Linked DNA regions of Homo sapiens: all the other regions are linked to region 3. The links are contacts of gene promoters, found by promoter capture Hi-C in human tissues and cell types (Jung and others, 2019). All regions are on one chromosome and are shown on one strand. Each heading gives the region's core, a stretch centred on a gene start or on the middle of the fragment in contact. The rest is flanking DNA. Distances are from core to core; before and after follow the strand shown. Region 1 holds the start of DGAT1 (diacylglycerol O-acyltransferase 1). Region 2 has its middle 17 kb from the start of ZNF252P-AS1. Region 3 holds the start of ARHGAP39 (Rho GTPase activating protein 39).

Evidence for each region. The method cuts DNA at HindIII sites, captures the fragments that hold promoters and counts their contacts. A contact is called where the count stands out against the background at its distance.
Region 1: a contact is called between the fragment with the promoter of DGAT1 here and the fragment with the promoter of ARHGAP39 in region 3, in 6 of the 25 tissues and cell types used here (aorta, dorsolateral prefrontal cortex, heart left ventricle and 3 more).
Region 2: a fragment that was not itself captured here is called in contact with the fragment with the promoter of ARHGAP39 in region 3 in 4 of the 25 tissues and cell types used here (dorsolateral prefrontal cortex, lymphoblastoid cells, mesenchymal stem cells and 1 more).

The regions. Positions count from the first base shown.
Region 1 is chr8:144,324,792-144,329,124 of GRCh38, reverse strand. It overlaps DGAT1 (diacylglycerol O-acyltransferase 1), which reads left to right and starts at 2,273. Exons shown (of 17, transcript NM_012079.6): 1 at 2,273-2,688. The coding sequence starts at 2,489. RefSeq lists silencers at 1,847-2,566, 2,577-2,646. The HindIII fragment of the contact is 53,552 bases long and covers 1-4,333 here.
Region 2 is chr8:145,017,764-145,022,240 of GRCh38, reverse strand. It overlaps the pseudogene LOC124902043. Among named protein-coding and RNA genes, the nearest start is that of ZNF252P-AS1, 17 kb to the right of the region's middle. The HindIII fragment of the contact is 6,395 bases long and covers 1-4,477 here.
Region 3 is chr8:144,684,482-144,689,302 of GRCh38, reverse strand. ARHGAP39 (Rho GTPase activating protein 39) reads left to right here and starts at 3,457. Exons shown (of 12, transcript NM_025251.3): 1 at 3,457-3,617. RefSeq lists enhancers at 1,081-1,953, 3,140-3,751, 4,365-4,821. The HindIII fragment of the contact is 13,771 bases long and covers 1-4,821 here.

The DNA of each region.
Region 1 (4,333 bases), core at 1,024-3,523, 360 kb after region 3:
TCCCAGGGTATAGGGCCTGTCTGGGCAGGGCTTCACCCACCTCTGGAGCTGCTGCCCCGCCACGCCCCCACCCCCGGTGGCAAAGCCCTTCCTTAATGGCCCGCCCACAGCCAGTGCTTTCCCCATTGGCTCCAAGCCTGGCTCTGCTCACCAGGCCCGACCCATCCTCCCTGGTGGTCCAGTCCACCCTCCCATTGTCTTTCTCCTGTGGCCACTTGCCGGCTTTGAGTTGGGACGCGACCACAGGTTGAGTCGTTGATCTCCTCTGCCTAGCATGAGGTGCTCCGTGGCCAGGTCCAGACCTCTCTGAGCTTGCTGTCAGTCCATACTCAGACAGGTCTGGGCCTACCTGGCCACAGAGTGTGTCTGCCAGCGACTGCATTCAACAAATGAATATTCTGAGAGACTGGGTAGGAGATGGGGCTGGTCCTGACCGACCAAGGCCCATGTGTGAGGGGCTCTTGGGTCCAGTGAGGGCGGCCCCACTCGGCAGGCTACACAAAGGGCATCTGCCAGGTAGCTCCAGCCTGCCTGATACCTGGTTGGCAGCAACCCACAGCGGCCTGTGGTGACAAGAATATGTCACCAGGGGGGCAACCAAGGGGGCAGCCCTGCTGGCCACTGTTGGTGGAGGTGGTGGAAGAGGACGGAGCTCAGAGGCGAGGCTGTGACCAGCCCACGGGAGAGGACCCCACCTCAGGAGGAGCACCTGTTTGCTTCCAGAGAAGTGCTGCTTGCCCCTGCTCACCCCAGAGGAATGAAGGTGTTTCTAGAGTCAGAGTCCTCAGTGAACCCTGGCATCCTGAGATCCAGGATGTTCTCACTCCATGCCCTGTGCAATATGCACACCAAGCCAAGGTGGGCCGCAACTGTGGCTGTTACAGTTGATTAGTTGCTTCATTTAACATACAAGATGTCTGGGGCAGTGGCTCATACCTGTAATCCCAGCACCTTCAGAGGCCGAGGTGGGAGGATTGCGTGAGGCCAGGAGTTCGAGACCAGCCTGGGCAGAATAGCGAGACCCCCATCTTTAGAAAAAATAACAACAGGCCAGGCGCGGTGGCTTGCGCCTATAATCCCAGCACTTTGGGAGGCCGAGGTGGGCGGATCACGAGGTCAGGAGATCGAGACCAGCCTGGCCAATATGGTGAAAGCCCGTCTCTACTAAAAACAGAAAAATTAGCTGGGCGTGGTGGCACGCGCCTGTAGTCCTGGCTACTCGGGAGGCTGAGGCAGGAGAATCGCTTGAACCCAGGAGGTGGAGGTTGCAGTGAGACGAGATCGCGCTACTGCACTCCAGCCTGGCGACAGAGTGAGACTGTCTCAAAAAAAGAAAAAAGAAAACAAAAAACAACAGGGCGGTTGCACAGGCCGTGCAAATGCACAGAAGCCTCTTGAGTCCCGGCGATCCAGCGGCCCAGACTTCTGACATCCTGGAGAGGCTGGCCCACGTTGGAAACTGGGAGGCCCTGAGAGTTGAGGGACGTGGAGCTCCTTGTGGAGAGAGTGGGTGGGCTGAGAAGACACCACCAAGGGGCCTGCGCCCTCGCCCTCGCCCTCGCCCTCCTCTCGCCGGGCTCTGCAGGCGGGGAGGTGGAGAGCCTGGGAGTCGCGTGCAAGGCAGGCGTCCCGGTGACGCAGGGCCTGGTGCATTTCTCCAGCTTGGTCTTCTGACCTGGCCCTTGTCTGACGTCCCCCTAAGGCGAAGAAAAGCAGGTTCCTGCCGGGGTAACCAGAGGGCTCGCGGAGCAGAAGCGCGCCAGGGACGTTACTGTAAGCTGCGTGCGCAGAAACCAACGCGCTGGGTGGCGGGCGACGCGAGCCGCCGCGGACACCGGCCCGGACAGCTGGACCGTGGCGCACTAGGCGCTTCCTAAATGATTGCCCGGAGTGACTCGCCGAGACCCCGTGTGTACACAAGTGGGACGAGGGGCGGGCGCACAGCGGCCAGGAAGTCGGGGCCCAGCGCACCCCTCAGCGGACCATCCCGCTCCGTGGGGCCGGACAGGACCCCGGGACCACGCGGGAGCGATGCAAGGTCCGTTCCCGCTGCGCGCACTTGCGGCCCGCAGCCCCGGCCCTGGGAGCTGCCACGGCTCCCAGGGTGCTCTGCGCCGGTGCGGCCGCGGCGACTACGACTCCCAGGGTGCTCTGCGCCGGCGCGCCCGCGGCGACTACGACTCCCAGGGTGCCCTGCGCCCCGTCAGCCTCTCCAGGCCCCGCCTCAGGTCGGCCGCGGACTACAAATGGACGAGAGAGGCGGCCGTCCATTAGTTAGCGGCTCCGGAGCAACGCAGCCGTTGTCCTTGAGGCCGACGGGCCCGACGCGGGCGGGTTGAACGCGCTGGTGAGGCGGTCACCCGGGCTACGGCGGCCGGCAGGGGGCAGTGGCGGCCGTTGTCTAGGGCCCGGAGGTGGGGCCGCGCGCCTCGGGCGCTACGAACCCGGCGGGCCCACGCTTGGCTGCGGCCGGGTGCGGGCTGAGGCCATGGGCGACCGCGGCAGCTCCCGGCGCCGGAGGACAGGGTCGCGGCCCTCGAGCCACGGCGGCGGCGGGCCTGCGGCGGCGGAAGAGGAGGTGCGGGACGCCGCTGCGGGCCCCGACGTGGGAGCCGCGGGGGACGCGCCAGCCCCGGCCCCCAACAAGGACGGAGACGCCGGCGTGGGCAGCGGCCACTGGGAGCTGAGGTAGCGGAGCGCCTGACCCCCTAACCTCTGACCCAAGGGCCCCGCGACTTTCCGGGGTTGGCCGAAGCGCGAGCTCCGAGTCCGAGAACATGGGCCCTGGGCTAAGCGGGGATCGGTGTGCCCTATGGGCCCTGTGGGGAAACTGAGGCTTGGGGAGAGTCACCTGACAAGGTCACTGGGTAGGGGCTCTGGAGCTGGCCTTGGCCAGGCAGAGGGGAGCCGGCAGGTGTCCCGCATCCAGATCCTCTTGGGTCTGTGCATCCTCAGGGGCTCCTGAGGAGCTTTTCGAGGGGCGGGCTGGTGGGGGCCCGGCCCTGGACAGTGTCCCCTTATATGGAAGGAGTCAGATAAGATCTGGGCAGTTTGTGGTGATAGGTTCCTTCTTGGTGCTATGAGCGGTGCCTTGCGGGTAGGAAAGGCTCCCAGAGGAGGGCTGGCCTGCCAGGGAGGGGGCCAGAGGAGCCCAGGCCTGTCCGAGGACAGGGGAATCAGCAGCTGCCCCGGACAAGGGGCAGTGTTAGAGGCGTTCTTGTCCTTGCAGACCCTTCTGAGAGTGGCTGCGTGGCCCATTCATTGCTCCAGTGGTTAGGCTGGCCTGGAGCCCTGCCGATGTTGCCAGAGCCAGCGTCTGTTGTAGGGACAGAGAGTTGGGTTCTGTGTTGGGACTTCCATCCTCCAGGTGGGGAGTGGGGTATGGGGGTGGTGGACACACCTGCAGGCGTGTGCCCTGCTCAGCTGGATGACTGACAGAGAGGGGTGGAGGGAGAGAACCATGGCCGATGGGAAGGACTTGGCCAGCCTGGGCATTGGCTTCCTCCACCAAGCTGGCCTTGAGCAATCCCCTTGCCACCCTCCATCCCCCCTTTATGGCCTTTACCCTGGCCCAGGGGCCCTCAGGGCTTTGTTTTAGAGAGCAGCTGAGGGCCTAGAGGTTATCAAGGCAGAAGTGGGCTGATTTTGGACATGTAGTTGGCAATGATTTGCTCTCTCAGTGAGCAAGAACAGAGCTTTCCTTCACGGGGCACCATGGGGAGGGGGTTGGGGGAGGGCAGGCACTGTCGTGGCCCTCAGGGTGCTCAGTTCATCTGGGAGATAAGATAACCTCAGCGAGAGTCAGGCATGGAGCAACATGGACAAAGGTCGGGCACGGAGGCCTTGAAGGGGCCGTGGGGAGGAGGGTGGCCCTCCTGAGAGGGGTGCTTGCCTGCTGTGGGCCTGGGGTGCTGGTGAGGGAGGCTGGCCTAGGCACCTCCTACCTGAAAAGGAGGTGTGGCTCCTGGAGTTACCCTCTCTCCAGGAGGCAGGGGGATGGCTACATGACCTGTGGAGGACGTGGGAATTGAGATTTCTTTTTTTTTCTTTTCTTTTTTTTTGAGACTAGTTTTGCTCTTGTTGCCCAGGCTGGAGTAAAATGGCACATTCTTGGCTCACTGCAACCTCTGCCTCCCAGGTTCAAGTGATTCTCCTGCCTCAGCCTCCAGAGTAGCTGGGATTAGAGGCGCCCACCACACCCGGCTAATTTTGTATTTTTAGTAGAGATGGGGTTTCTCCATGTTGGTCAGGCTGGTCTCGAACTCCTGAACTCAGGTGATCCACCTGCCTTGGCCTCCCAAAGTGCTGGGATTACAGGTGTGAGCCACCGCGC
Region 2 (4,477 bases), core at 651-3,150, 330 kb before region 3:
GATCAGACTGTTACTGTGTCTATGTAGAAAGGGAAGACATAAGAGACTCCATTTTGAAAAAGACCTGTACTTTGAACAATTGCTTTGCTCAGATGTTGTTAATTTGTAGTTTTGCCCCAGCCACTTTGACCCAACCTGGAGCTCATAAAAACATGTGTTGTATGAAGTCAAGGTTTAAGGGATCTAGGGCTGTGCAGGATGTGCCTTGTTAACAAAATGTTTACAAGCAGTATACTTGGCAAAAGTCATTGCCATTCTCTAGTGTCAACAAACCACAGGCATAATGCACTGCAGAAACCCACAGGGAACTCTGCCCTTGAAAGCTGGGTATCGTCCAAGGTTTCTCCCCATGTGATAGTCGGAAATATGGCCTCATGAGATGAGAAAGACCTGACTGTCCCCCAGCCCGACACCCGTAAAGGGTCTGTGCTGAGGTGGATTGGTAAAAGAGGAAAGCCTCTTGCAGTTGAGATAGAGGAAGGCCACTGTCTCCTGCCTGCCCCTGGGAACTGAACGTCTTGGTATAAAACCCGATTGTACATTTGTTCAATTCTGAGATAGGAGAAAAACCGCCCTATGGTGGGAGGTGAGACATGTTGGCAGCAATGCTGCCTTGTTATTCTTTACTCCACTGAGATGTTTGGGTGGAGAGAAACATAAATCTGGCCTATGTGCACATCCAGGCATAGTACTTTCCCTTGAACTTAATTATGACATAGATTCCTTTGCTCACATGCTTTTTGCTGACCTTCTCCTTATTATCACCCTGCTCTCCTACTACATTCCTTTCTGCTGAAATCATGAAAATAATAATCAATAAAAACTGAGGGAACTCAGAGACCGGTGCCGGTGCAGGTCCTTGGTGTGCCGAGTGCCGCTCTCCTGGGCCCACTGTTGTTTCTCTATACTTTGTCACTGTGTCTTATTTCTTTTCTCAGTCTCCCATCCCACCTGACTAGAAATACCCACAGGTGTGGAGGGGCAGGCCACCCCTTCAGATTATCAAGAACTCCAATGAAGCCAGCTAAATCTATTTGCCAATTGACTGAATTAACAAAGGCTTTCCAAATCTGATTTTTATTCATTGGAACTATAATCTTATCTGGATCTGAGCCACAAAGTTTAACAACTCTAAGGTGAGCTTGCCCAATCAAGATTGCCATCTGATCCAAGTATACTGTGAGTGTTCTAACAGTATTGTGAGGCAGAAAAGACCATTCAACTAAGTCCTCACTCTGAACTGTAACCCCTGTAGAAGAATGGAGAGTAGGGAACACAATGAACTGTAATGGTAAATTTGAGTCTATTCTATTAACCTGGGCCTGTTGTATTTTTTCTTCAATCATTTGTAATTCTTTGGCAGTCTCAGGAGTCAGTTCTCATTTACTATTGAGAGCAGGGTCACCTCTTAAAATAGAGAACAGATTAGACATAGCATAGGTAGGGATTCCCAAAGGAGGTCAAATCCAATTGATATCCCCTAATAATTTTTGAAAATCATTTAAAGTTTTCAGAGAGTCTTTTTGAATTTGAACCTCTTGGGGTCTAATTGCCCTTTCCTGATCCTGCATTCCCAAATATTGGAAAGGAGTGGATGTTTGAATTTTATCTGGTGCTATGAGCAATCCAGCATTGGCTACCACCTCCTGTAAATATGAATAACACTGGATAAGTCAGTCTTAACTTTTGACCGTACCCAATATGTCATCCATAAAATGAATGATATATGAATCAGGAAACTGATCTCTCACAGGTGGAATAGCCTTCCCCACAAAAGTTTGACAAATAGTAGGACTATTCAACATATCCTGCAGCAGGACTTTCCAATGATATCTGGCTGCTGGTTCCTTGTTGTTCATAGCAGGAATAGTAAAAGCAAATTTCACAAAATCAGACTCTGCTAGAAGAATATTTAAAAAGCAATCCTTCAAATCTATAATTACTAATGGCCAGTCTCTAGGAATCATGGTGGGGGATAGAAGCCCCAGCTGCAGGGCCCCAATCAGCTGAATGAATGTGTTCACCACACGTAAGTCGGTTAGCATGCGCCATCTGCTGGATTTTTTCTTTATTACAAACACCGGCAAATTCTATGGAGAAAATGTGGGCTCAATGCTTCCTTTGTTTAATTGCTCTTTGACTAATTCCTGTAAGGCCCCCAATTTTTCCTGAGTAAGTGGCCACAGCTCAACCCAAACAGGATTTTGGGTCTTCCATTTTAAGGGAATAGGACTTGGAGGCTCAACAGTGACCACCCCTAAAAATGGTAACCTACATGGGAGGTTCCAAGATGGCCAAATAGGAACAGTTCCAGTCTAGAGCTCCCAGCATGAGCGATGCAGAAGACAGGTGATTTCTGCATTTCCAACTGAAATACCAGGTTCATCTCACTGGAGCTTGTCAGACAGTGGGTGCAGGACAGTGGGTGCAGCCCACCGAGTGAGACCTGAAGCAGGGCAAGGCACCACCTCACCTGGGAAGTGCAAGGGGTCAGGGAATTCCCTTTCCTAGCCAAGGGAAGCTGTGACAGATGGCACCTGGAAAATCGGGTCACTCCCACCCTAATACTGTGCTGTTCCAATGGTCTTAGCAAATGGCACACCAGGAGATTATTTCCTACACCTGGCTTGGAGGGTCCCACACCCATGGAGCCTTGCTCATTGCTAGCACAGCAGTCTGAGATCGAACTGCAAGGTGGCAGCAAGGCTGGGGGAGGGGCGCCCACCATTGCTGAGACTTCAGTAGGTAAACAAAGCGGCTGGGAAGCTTGAACTGGATGGAGCCCACTGCAGCTCAAGGAGGCCTACCAGCCTCTGCAGACTCCACCTCTGGGTGCAGGGCATAGCTGAACAAAAGGCAGCAGAATCTTCTGCAGACTTAAATGTCCCTGTCTGACAGCTTTGAAGAGAGTAGTGGTTCTCCCAGCATGGAGTTTGAGATCTGAGAACAAACAGACTGCCTCCTCAAGTGGCTCCCTGACACCTGAGTACCCTAACTGGGAGGCACCTCCCAGTAGGGGCTGACTGATACCTCACACGGCCGGGTACCCCTCTGAGATGAAGCTTCCAGAGGAATGATCAGGCAGCAACATTTGCTATTCTGCAATATTCGCTATTCTGTAGCCTCTACTGGTCATATCCAGGCAAACAGGATCTAGAGTGGACCTCCAGCAAACTCCAACAGACCTGCAGCTGAGGGTTCTGACTATTAGAAGGAAAACTAACAAACAAAAAGTACATCCACACCAAAACCCCATCTGTACGTGACCATCATCAAAGACAAAAGGTAGATAAAAACACAAAGATGGGGAGAAGCCAGAGCAGAAAAGCTGAAAATTCTAAAAATCAGAGCACCTCTTCTCCTCCAAAGGAATGCAGCTCCTCACCAGCAATAGATCAAACCTGGATGGAGAATGACTTTGATGAGTTGAGAGAAGAAAGCTTCAGATGATCAAACTTCTCTGAGCTAAAGGAGGATGTTTGAACCCATCACAAAGAAGCTAAAAACCTTGAAAAAAGATTAGACGAATGGCTAACTGAATAACCAGGGTAGAGAAGACCTTAAATGACCTGATGGAGCTGAAAGCCATGGCACGAGAACTACATGTGCAAGCTTCAGTAGCTGATTCAATCAACTGGAAGAAAGGGTATCAGTGATTGAAGATCAAATGAATGAAATGATGTGAGAAGAGAAGTTTAGAGAAAAAAGAGTAAAAAGAAATGGAACAAAGCCTCCAAGAAATATGGGACTATGTGAAAAGACCAAATCTACATCTGATTGGTGTACCTGAAAGTGATGGGGAGAATGGAACAAAGTTGGAAAACAGTTTTCAGGATATTATCCAGGAGAATTTCCTCAACCTACCAAGGCAGGCCAACATTCAAATTCAGGAAATACAGAGAATGCCACAAAGATACTCCTCAAGTAGAGCAACTCCAAGACACATAATTGTCAGATTCACCCAAGTTGAAATGAAGGAAAAAATGTTAAGGGCAGCCAGAGAGAAAGGTCGAGTTACCCACAAAGGGAAGCCCACCAGACTAACAGTGGATCTCTCAGCAGAATCTCTACAAGCCAGAAGAGAGTGGAGGCCAATATTCAACATTCTTAAAGCAAAGAATTTTCAACCCAGAGTTTCATATCCAGCCAAACTAAGCTTCATAAGTGAAGGAGAAATAAAATCCTTTACAGACAAGCAAATGCTGAGAGATTTTGTCACCACTGGGCCTGCCTTACAAGAGCTCCTGAAGGAAGCACTAAACATGGAAAGGAAAAACCAGTACCAGCCACTGCAAAAACATGCCAAATTGTAAAGACCATCGATGCTAGGAAGAAACTGCATCAACTAATGAGCAAAATAACCAGCTAACTCAAAATGACAGGATCAAATTCACACATAACAATATTAACCTTAAATGTAAATGGGCTAAATGCTCCAATTACAAGACACAGACTGGCAAATTGGATAAAGAGTCAA
Region 3 (4,821 bases), core at 2,208-4,707:
TGCTGGGAGTGGTGTGATGGCTTCTTAAAAAGTCAAACTTACTTCTAGTTAAATATTTGTAAAAAAAAAAAAGTCAAACTTGCAGGCACCCTGTGATGCGCCAGGCGAGCCCTGGGCACCTCCCTAGGAGAGGAACACGGATGTGTAAATACCCCGGGGTGGCCCAGGGATCCAACTTTGTTTTTCTCCCTGTAGCTCACAAACAGAGGCTCTATTAAACAATAGACCTTTTCTCGTTGGTTTTGATGTGTGGATGTGATTAAACTCTTTGCTCCATTCCCTTGCGTGTTTCTGGGCCTGTGAAACACCCCGGCTCAGGAGCAGACCTTAATCTCTGGCAGGGTCCGTCCCCCTTCATGTCCTCCTTCACAATTGGACGTGCTATTTTTAGATCTATATTATTTTGTGCAATTTTTAAAATATGTTGTTACAGTCCTCAAAAAATCTTGCTGGAATTAAGATTATTAACATTTTGGATTTCTATATAACTTTAGGAAGACTCGACATCTTTACTATGTTATACCACCTGGTCCACGAGCGTGCTATGTTCCTCCATTTATTTATTATTGTTTTACTTTCTGAGACAGGGTCTCGCTCTGTTGCCCAGGCTGGAGGGCAGTGGTGTGATCACAGCTCACCACAGCCTCGACCTTCCCAGGCTCAAGTGATCCTCACACCTCAGCCTCTTGACTACGCCTGGCTAATTTAAAATTTCTTTTTGTAGACACGGGGTTGCCTTATGCAGCCCAGGCTGGTCTCGAATTCCTGATCTCAAGCGTTCCTCCACCTTAGCCTGGAAAAACGATGGGATTACAGCTGTGAGCCACCACACAGGTCCCCCTCCATTAGTGGGGACTTTAGATTTTCTTTTTAAGTCCTTAAAGAGTTAAGTGTCCTTGGCCAGGTGTGGTGGCTCACGCCTGTAATCCCAACACTTTGGGAGGCTGAGGTGGGTGAATCACTTGAGGTCAGGAGTTTGAGAGGAGCCTGGCCAACACGGTGAAACCCTATTTCTACTAAAAATACAAAAAATTAGCCAGGAGTTGTGGTGGGCACCTGTAATCCCAACTACTCAAGAGGTTGAGGCAGGAGAATTGCTTGAACCCAGAAGGCAGAGGTTGCAATGAGCCAAGATGGCGCCACTGTACTCCAGCCTAGGTGACACAGCAAGACTCCATCTCAAAAAAAAAAAAAAAAGAGTTAAATGTCCTCTATAAATATTTTGTATATTTTTAATTAGTTAAGTGTGTGGTCACCAGGGTGGGAAATGCTCACTGTAAATGTGTGGTCATGGGGGTGGGAAGTGCTCACCGCTAGTATGTGGTCACGGGGTTGGGAAGTGCTCACTGTAAATGTGTGGTCACGGGGTGGGAAGTGCTCACCGCCAGTGTGTGGTCACGGGGTGGGAAGTGTTCACTGTAAATGTGTGGTCACGGGGTGGGAAGTGCTCACTGCTAGTGTGTGGTCACGGGGGTGGGAAGTGCTCACCGCCAGTGTGTGGTCACGGGGTGGGAAGTGCTCACCGCCAGTGTGTGGTCACAGGGGTGGGAAGTGCTCACTGTAAATGTGTGGTCACGGGGTGGGAAGTGCTCACCGCTAGTGTGTGGTCACGGGGTGGGAAGTGCTCACTGCTAGTGTGTGGTCACGGGGGTGGGAAGTGCTCACCGCCAGTGTGTGGTCACGGGGTGGGAAGTGCTCACCGCCAGTGTGTGGTCACGGGGTGGGAACTGCTCACCGCCAGTGTGTGGTCACGGGGTGGGAAGTGCTCACCGCCAGTGTGTGGTCACGGGGTGGGAAGTGCTCACCGCCAGTGTGTGGTCACAGGGGTGGGAAGTGCTCACCGCCAGTGTGTGGTCACGGGGTGGGAAATGCTCACCGCCAGTGTGTGGTCACGGGGTGGGAAGTGCTCGCCGCCAGTGCGTGGTCACAGGGGTGGGAAATGCTCGCCGCCAGTGCGTGGTCACAGGGGTGGGAAGTGCTCGCCGCCAGTGCGTGGTCACGGGGTGGGAAGTGCTCGCCGCCAGTGCGTGGTCACGGGGTGGGAAGTGCTCACCGCCAGTGTGTGGTCACGGGGGTGGGAAATGGTCGCCGCCAGTGTGTGGTCACGGGGGTGGGAAGTGCTCGCCGCCAGTGTGTGGTCACGGGGGTGGGAAATGCTCGCCGCCAGTGCGTGGTCACGGGGGTGGGAAATGGTCGCCGCCAGTGTGTGGTCACGGGGTGGGAAGTGCTCGCCGCCAGTGCGTGGTCACGGGGGTGGGAAGTGCTCGCCGCCAGTGCGTGGTCACGGGGGTGGGAAATGGTCGCCGCCAGTGTGTGGTCACGGGGGTGGGAAGTGCTCGCCGCCAGTGCGTGGTCACAGGGGTGGGAAATGGTCGCCGCCAGTGTGTGGTCACGGGGGTGGGAAGTGCTCGCCGCCAGTGTGTTGTCACAAGTTTAAGGTGAAGGCAGTCAGCCTGGATGTGTGATTTTCTTCAGCAGTCATGGAGGAGAAGGGTTGGGCTCGCCCAGTTGGGTTTTCTAAGTGAATACAGTGGAGAGGGAGCGGGAGGCGAAAAAGCAGAGCCCTGTGTATAAGAGTGAAGAGTGAAGTGTGACGACGGCCCAACAGGGAAGCGCGGGCGGCGAGACAGCCCGACGGGAGATCTCCTGAGGCGGGAGAGTCCCTGCAAGGCGACTGAGCTGCAGGGCAGGAGGTGGAGCTCCACGGATGACTTTTGACGGGGGCCTTTCAGCCCTTTGCGGCTTCTCACAGTTGAGGACCCAGGGAATGTCCAGGACTGAAGGGTGTGCGCCCCTGTCTTCTACTATCGAAGCTTCAGGCTGTTTAGCCTCCGTTTCTCCAGAAATGCCAGTCAGATTCAATTTCCAGAAACGCACCTGGCACTAAGAGAATCTAGAAAACCAGGCTGAACGCAGATTAGAAAACGCCGAATAGAGCACTAGTCGAGCTGCAGCTGAGTGAATTACCGAGTAAAAGTGACAGGACTAAAAAGGTGAGAATAACAGGAGGTGAAGAGACACGAGCCCGCCACAAGAAGGACTGAGGAACAGGGCAGCCCACGTTTTGAGAAGAATGGCTGTATTTCTAGAGTCGAAGAAAAGTGAAATCTCAGACTCGGGAAGCCCAACGTGGTTTGAGAGGGCAAAATTACACCAAACCACACCGAGACGTGTCAGATGGTAACTGCTCTGCACCGAAAGAGACGGGAAGACACCGCTAACTCACAGGGTAGGTCCGCGCGGGAGGCCTCTGGCGCGGCGACGGGGCGGGGCCAGGCGGCTCCCAGCATGCCGCGCGCGCCCTCCGCGGGACTCCGGCTCCCGGCATGCCGCGCGCCAGCGCATGCGTGATGCGGCCTCGCGAGGCAGTGCCCCCTGGCGGCGGGTAGTGACCGCCGCGGGGGCGGAGCCGGAGGCGGGGGGTTGCGCTTGGTGACGGGAGGACGCGCGGCCGCCGCGCACTGGGCCGGCGGCGGCGGCGGAGGACGCCGACAGCACGGGCTGCCGCGGCAGCAGCGGCGGAGCAGCAGAGAGGCCGGGGAGCGGCGGCTGGCTCACGCGCGTCGCGCGGGCCGGGATGAGGGACTGTGGCGGCGCGGCCCGCGCGCAGCCGGCCGGTGAGAGCGCGGGCAACGGGCGGTGGGCGGCGCGGGCCAAGAAGATGGCGGAGGGGCCGGCGCTGCGGTCCCCGTGGTCCTGGCCCAGCCTCGGCGGAGGCTCCAGGCCCGGCAGCGCAAGGAATCCAGGCCCGCGGCGACTGCAGCGGCGGGAGGGGCTGTGACTGGGCCGTGGAGGGAGGGGGCGTGGGTGTGCGGGGCCCGGCCGGGCGGGGGGCGCGGAGGCTCGAGGGGCCGAGGCCGCGCGGGGCCCGGGTGCGCGCCGACGGGCCGGGCTGGGAGTGTGAGGGTGGGTGAGTTCGCGTGTGCCCGGCCCGAAGTGGGTGTGACTGTACCCTGTCCAGAGTGAGTTGTGTCCCTGCCCTAGGTGGGTGTGAGTGTGCCCGGCCCCAATGTGGGTGTGGGTGTGCCCCTGTCCAGAGTGAGTGTGAGTGTGCCCCTGTCCACGGTGGGTATGAGTGTGCCCGGCCCGAGGGGAGTGTGGGTGTGTCCGGCCCCAGGGGGGTGTGAGTGTGCTCCTGCCCGAGGGAGGTGTGAGTGTGCCCGGCCCTAGATGGGTGTGAGTGTGCCCCTGCCCGAGGGGGGTGTGAGGGGACCCCGCCCGTGGTGGGTGTGGGTGCACGTGTGCCCAGCCTGAGCTCGGGGCACCGGCCGCATTCCCGGGCGCCGTCGGAGTGGGGACAAGGTGGATGCCCGCCGGTCGGGTCTGGTGCCCGCGTCCTGAAGGGCGGCCCGGGTGCAGGGCTGCGGTGCGCTGCGGTGCAGCCTCGGGCTTTGTCCCCGGGGCGCAGGGAGCGGACATGGGCGTCTCCAGGTGGGGTCATGGCCGCCTGCGGGTGGGCTCTGCGGCCTCGCCTCTGCGGCAGGCGCGGGCTGGGGCTCCGGCGCTCGGAGCCTTCCCCTCCCGGTTGCCCCCCGAGCTGGAATTCCCTCGGTTGCTTCCCGGTTGCTTCCCAGTTGCTGGAGTGCTGTGGGTGGAGGCGGCGTTCCGTGCCCAGGGCGGCGAGAGAGGCGGGCTGTGCATTTTGGGGCCCAGGACGTTTTTTATTTTAAAACGTGCAGCCGGCTCCTTGGCAGCTGTGGGTGTGTTCCGAGCCGCTTCCCACCAGCAGCTGCTGTGGGCGCTGCGCAGCTTCGGAAACGCAGCCGGGCCCCCTCCCCCTCAGTGCTGTACGGGTTTAACCAGACCTCCAGTGACCTCTGC